Linked DNA regions of Homo sapiens: region 1 is linked to region 2. Evidence: promoter capture Hi-C in 16 types of primary human blood cells and fetal thymus (Javierre and others, 2016). All regions are on one chromosome and are shown on one strand. The core of a region is centred on a gene start or on the middle of the fragment in contact, and the rest is flanking DNA. Distances in the headings are between cores, read along the strand shown.

Region 1 (2,834 bases), core at 184-2,683, 340 kb before region 2:
TTCTCAGCAGGTGTTAGTGGTATTTTGAGTGAAATAATTTTTCCTTGGGTAGGCCTTGTTCTACCCAAGGTTGTGGGTTCATTAAACGGTTAATCGGTACATTAGTCCGTTCTTATACTGCCATAAAGATACTACCTGAGACTGGGTAATTATAAAGGAAAGAGGTTTAGTTGACTCACAGTTCTGCATAACTGACGAGGCCTCAGGAAACTTATAGTCATGGCAGAAAGGGAAACAGACCTCTTCTCAAGGCGGTAGGAGAGAGAAGAGCAAGCCAAGGAAGAACTTGCCACACACTTATAGAACCATCATGTCTCCTGAGAACTCGCTATCACGAGAACAGCATGAGGGAAACTGCCCCCATGATCCAGTCACCTCCTACCAGGTTCCTCGCTCAACACTTTGGGGATTACAAGTCAAGGTGAGATTCGGGTAGGGACACAAAGCCAAACCATGTCATTTCTCCCCCTACCCCTCCCAAATCTCATGTTCCTTTCAAAACCATTCCATTTCAAAACAAATCATGCCTTCCCAGCAAGGCCCCCAAAGTCTTAACTCATTTCGTCATTAACTCAAAAGTCCAAGTCCAAAGTCTCATCTCTGACAAGGTAAGTCCCCTCTGCCTAGCAGCCTGTAAAATCAAAAGCAAGTTAGTTACTTTCAAGATACAATGGAAATACAGGCATTGGATAAATACTCCCATTACCAATGGAAGAAATTGGCCAAAACAAAGGGCTACAGGCCCCCATGCAAGTCCGAAATCCGGCTGGGCAGTCATTAAATCTTAAAGCTCAAAATGGTCTCCTTTGTGACCCCGTGTCTCACATCCAGGGCACACTGATACAGGGAGTGGCTTTCATGGTCTTGGGCAGCTCTGCCCCTGTGGCTTTGTAGGGTACAGCCCTCCCACACCCACCCCCTTCAGCTACTTTCATGGTGGGCATTGAGTGTCTTTGGCTTTTCTAGGTGCACAGTGCAAAGCTCTTGGTGGATCTACCGTTCTGGGGTCTGGAGGATGGTTGTTCTCTTCTCACAGCTCCACTAGGCAGTGCCCCAGTGGGGACTCTGGGAGCTCCAACCCCACATTTCCCTTCTGCAATGCCCTAGCAGATGTTCTCCATGAGGGCCCTGCCCCTGCAGCAGATTTCTGTCTGGACATCCAGGCGTTTCCCTACATCCTCTGAAATGTAGGTGAAGGTTCCCAAACGTCAGTTATTGAATTCTTTGCACCCACAGGCCCAACACCACGTGGAAGCTGCCAAGGCTTGGGGTTTGTACTCTCTGAAGCAACAGCCTGAGCTGTACCTTGGCCCTTTTTAGCCATGGCTGGAGCTGGAACAGCTGGGACACAGGGCACCAAGTACCAAGGCTGCACAGAGTAGCAGCGGGGCTGGGCCTGGCCCACAAAACCATTTTTCCCTCCTAGGCCTCCCTGCTTGTGATGGGAGGGGCTGCTGCCAAGATCTCTGACATGCTCTGGAGACATTTACCCCATTGTCTTGGCGATTAATATTTGGCTCCTTGTTACTTATTTGAATTTCTCTCCAGAAAATGGGTTTTTCTTTTTTATTGCACCGTCATGCTGCGAAGTTTTCAAACTTTTATTCCCTGCTTTCTTTTAAACACGAGTTCCAATTTCAGATCATCTCTCTCAAGTTCAAAGTTCCACAGATCTCTAGGGCAGGGGCAAAATCTCACCATTCTCTTTGTTGAAACATAGCAAGGGTGACCATTGCTCCAGTTCCCAAGAAGTTCCTCTTCTCTTTTTCAGACCACCTCAGCCTGGGCTTCATTGTCCATGTCACTATCAGCATTTTGGTCAAAAGCATTCAGCAAGTCTCTAGGAAGTTCCAGACTTTCCCACATCTTCCTTCTTCTAAGCCCTTCAAACTGTTCCAACCTCTGCCTACTACCCAGTTCTGAAGTTGCTTCCACATTTTCAGGTTATCTTTATAGCAGTACCCCTGGTACCAATTTACTGTATTCATCTGTTTTCACACTCCTATAAGAACTTCCCTGAGACTGGATAATTTATAAAGGAAAGAGGTTTAATTGACTCACAGTTCCACATGGCTAGGGAGGCCTCAGGAAACTTATCATGACAGAAGCCGAAGGGGAAGCAAGCACCTTCTTCACAAGGTGGCAAGAAAGAAGAGTGAAGGAGGAACTTTCGAACACTTATAAAACCACCAGATCTCATGAGAACTCACTGTCATGAGAACAGCATGGAGGAAATTGCCCCCATGATCCAGTCACCTTCCACTAGGTTCCTCCCTCAACACCTGGAGATTACAATTCAAGATGAAATTTGTGTGGGGACACAAAGCCAAACCATATCAATGGACATTTGGGTTGTTTCCAGTTTGGGGCTATTACGAATTTAGCTACTATGAACATTCACACAAAAGTCTATGGCAACATAAGACCCAGTAGAATTGCTGGGTCTTAGAGTCAATATATATGTAATTTTAGTGGAAATGGTCAAACTTCTTTCCCAAAGGGTAACCAAACCATTTTGCATTCCCATCAGTGGTGCATGAGAGATCTACTTGCTAAACTTGCCAGCACTTTAAGTCTTTAATTTTGGCCATTCTTTTGTGACTAAAGATACTGATAATGCTGAAGCTATTGAGCTGTATCTTATTGTGGTTTTAATTTGCATTACCCTTATGATTCACAATGTTGAGCATTTTCTCATGTGCTTATTAGCCATCTGTTTTAGTCAGTTCAGGCTGCTGTAAAAAAATACCAAAGACCAGGGAGCTTAAACAACAAACATTTATTGCTCCCAATTCTGGAGGCTGGGAAGTCTGGTGAGGGCTGTCTTCCTGGTT
Region 2 (2,990 bases), core at 204-2,703:
GGCGGAGCCGATGGCCTCGATGGCGTTGTGAGACAGATCCAGCTCCCTGAGCCGGTGCAGGTGCTGGAAGGCCCCGTCCGGGAGGTGGGAGATCTTGTTGGCATCGAGCTTCAGGAGCACGGTGTTGGCCGGGATGTCCTCGGGGACCTCCTGAAGGCCCCGCAAGCTGCAGAAGACAGCCACAGCCCCTGCGTGGTCAGGGCACCGGCAGGGCTGTGGGCAGGCGGCGCCCAGGTGCAGGCAGAAGAGGAGGAAGAGACAAGACTCCCGGGTGGAGACCAGCAGGAGCGAGGGGCGAGGTGGGCGCACGGTGCCCATCCTGACCTGACCTGGGGACGGGGACACGCGAGCCTCTGCTAGGGCCTGGGGATGGAGCTGGTTTCCGCAGGCAAGGCCTTATCCAACCAGACATGAAACCGCCATCCTGCCCCGCTGGGAGAAGCAGTGCAGTCCACTCTGGCAGCTCTGAAAGGGAAGACGCAGGAGGGAGCGGAGAGGGAGGGAGGGTGGTCAGCACTGCCGGCTGCGGTCACCTGGGAAACGCGTCCACTGGTGGGGAGGGTGTTGAGGGCCCACTGAAGGGTCTGGGGTGGGGAGCACGCCTCCTTAAACAGCTCTGCCTGTAACTTACTTCTGGAGACTCCCAATGCGCCCGGGAGGAGCGTCCCACAAGTGCAGGGAGCTGGCACTGCCAGGGGGCTCCGCATGGCCCAGTGGGTGGTCACTGCGGCCACCCCTGGCCACCTACAGCACCGCTGGGGACCAAAGGCCGGGCGGCGGAGTGGCGGCGGCTTGGACCACCCAGCCCCTCCCTCCTCAGGGTGGACGCCAGGAGGACGGTGACGGCTGCAGCTTCTCCCGAACCTGGAGCGCGGGTCAAGCTGGGCACGTGGCCGGGCACCAGCGGGCGCTCGCGCGCCAGGGGCTACTCCAGCAGCCAACGCCTGGCTGACTCCGACAACCCCTAAAAACTGTCATAACCCAGCAAGCCCTTCCCTGCCAGCCCTAAAGGAGCCGCGGCTCGCACCGGGCACAGAACCGCGCCTTTTCTTTCAACTGCCTGAAGAAGGAAACCGAGAAAACAGAGAAGCCAAGCCCTGTGCGCGCGGCCCGCGCTGGGCGTGGACGGCGGGGCCGCGCGCGGAGCCGGCCGGGAGAGGCTCGGACCCCCAGGACCTCCAGCCTTTAGACCCTCCGGCCCTAGGACCCCCGGAACCTGGGACCCCCGAGACCCCAGCACTCGCGGCGGGGGGATGGTCATGGGGTGGGTGGGAATCCACGCTCCCAGGGCTGGGCGGGGGCTTTACCTGCGCGGCGGCGGCCGGAGGCTGCTCTGCGCGCCGCTCCCGGGCCTCTCGGAGCCCGCCAGACCCAGCTCCACGCCTGGCGCGGCGGCCACCCCGCTGCCCCTGCGACCGCGCCCGCGACCACTAGCTGGGGAGGCCGCGACTCCGGCCTGCGCGGGCGAGGGGCGGGGTGGGGCGGGGCCTGGAGGGGGCGGGGCGAAAGGCGGAGACAGGCTGTGTCGATTCCCCGCGGGGGCGGGGAAGGGGCGGGGCATGTAAGGAGACCGGAACGGGATTTGTGGTTAGGCGGGGGCGGGGCTTGAGGGCGGGTTCTGCGGCAGGGCGGGGCCTGGAAGAGATGGGGGAGGGGCATGGGAGGGGCATGGGAGGGGCCGGTGGTGCGGCTTTAGATGGAGCTGGTACTAAGACCCAGGTCGCAGGGGCTGTGGGCGGGTTGTGGGAGTAATTGTGGCATGCTGGGGGCGTGGTTGTGGGGCTGAGGACGAGGTGGTGGGGGCTGAGGGCGTGGTTATGGGTGGGGGCGGGGTCTGCGCGCCGGGAGGGGCTGTGGGTCCAGCCCCTGCCCCTCACTCTGGGCAAATCCCCTCTTCCCTCTGGCATCAGGACTTCTGGGGCTTGAAGACCCTGGGTCTGCGGGAAGCCCCTGCTGAGCGTCCCTCGCCTACCCCGTGGCCAGTGGGTGAGTAGGGCTAGATCTCCGCCCATCTAGGTCCCCTTCTGCTCCAGCTCCAGCGTCTGACATCCCAAGGAAGGAACGCAGGGTGGGGGCATTTGAGCCGGACCTGAGCCATCCTCATGGTTTTCAAAAAGTAGCCTTATTGTGGTGTAATTGACAGACGGTAAGCCACATATTTCAATTTGGTACGTTTTAACACTCGGATACTCCTGTGAAACCATCACCACAATCAGCATAGTGAACACCCCGGGTTCCCTCTTGGTCATCTCTCCCTGCCCTCCCTCATCCCCAGGCAAGCACTGATCTGCATTCTGTCACTACTGATTACTTTGCATTTCCTATGATTTGCACAAATGGAATCATATAATATGTACTTTTTGTGTAGCTTCTTTCACTCAGCACAATTATTTTTGAGATTTGCCTGCGTCATTTGGTTTGTCAATGCGTATTTCTTTTACAGCTGCATGGTACTCCAGTGTATGAATGTACCACAGTTTGTGTCCATTCACCTGCTGGTGGGCATTTGGGTTGTTTCTGGTGTTGGCTCTTACAGATAAAGCTGATCCGAACATTGTGCACAAGTCTTTGGATGAATGCTTTTCTTTCTCTTGAATAGATGTCTAGGAGTGGAGTGGCTGGATGCCACGGTAGCCATATGTGAAACTTTTTAAGAAACTGCCAAAGCGATTGTATGGTTTTACATTCCACATCCTCCCCAGCACTTGGTATGGTTTGTCTTTTTAATTTCAAATACTCTAATAGGTGTGTGGTGATAGATGGAACTGTGGTTTTAATTTGCGTTTCCCTGTTGGCCAATGATGTTGAGCATCATTTCATCTGTTTATTCTCCATCTCCTGTAGTAAGCGTTGAGTTCAAATCTTTTACTCACTTTTAATTGGGTTGTTTATTTTCTTATTATTGAGTTTGGGAGTTTGTTGCATATTCTGGATACAAGTCCTTTATCAGATATGTGATCTGTAAATGCTTTCTCCAAGCCTTTGGATTG

The links. Contacts are between HindIII fragments. The CHiCAGO score rates a contact against its expected background, and 5 or more counts as called.
Region 1: a fragment that was not itself captured here is called in contact with the fragment with the promoter of LRRC3 in region 2 in 1 of 17 cell types (M1 macrophages); the score reaches 7.4 in M1 macrophages.

What each region holds. Positions count from the first base shown.
Region 1 is chr21:44,789,939-44,792,772 of GRCh38, reverse strand. All of the region lies in intron 1 of UBE2G2 (ubiquitin conjugating enzyme E2 G2), which reads left to right. Among named protein-coding and RNA genes, the nearest start is that of UBE2G2, 10 kb to the left of the region's middle. The HindIII fragment of the contact is 3,844 bases long and covers 1-2,834 here.
Region 2 is chr21:44,453,973-44,456,962 of GRCh38, reverse strand. LRRC3 (leucine rich repeat containing 3) reads right to left here and starts at 1,453. Exons shown (of 2, transcript NM_030891.6): 1 at 1,308-1,453; 2 at 1-465. The coding sequence starts at 318. LRRC3-DT (LRRC3 divergent transcript) reads left to right here and starts at 1,679. Exons shown (of 4, transcript NR_047476.1): 1 at 1,679-1,719; 2 at 1,911-1,986. RefSeq lists silencers at 1,095-1,524, 1,613-1,792 and an enhancer at 1,956-2,456. The HindIII fragment of the contact is 8,140 bases long and covers 1-2,990 here.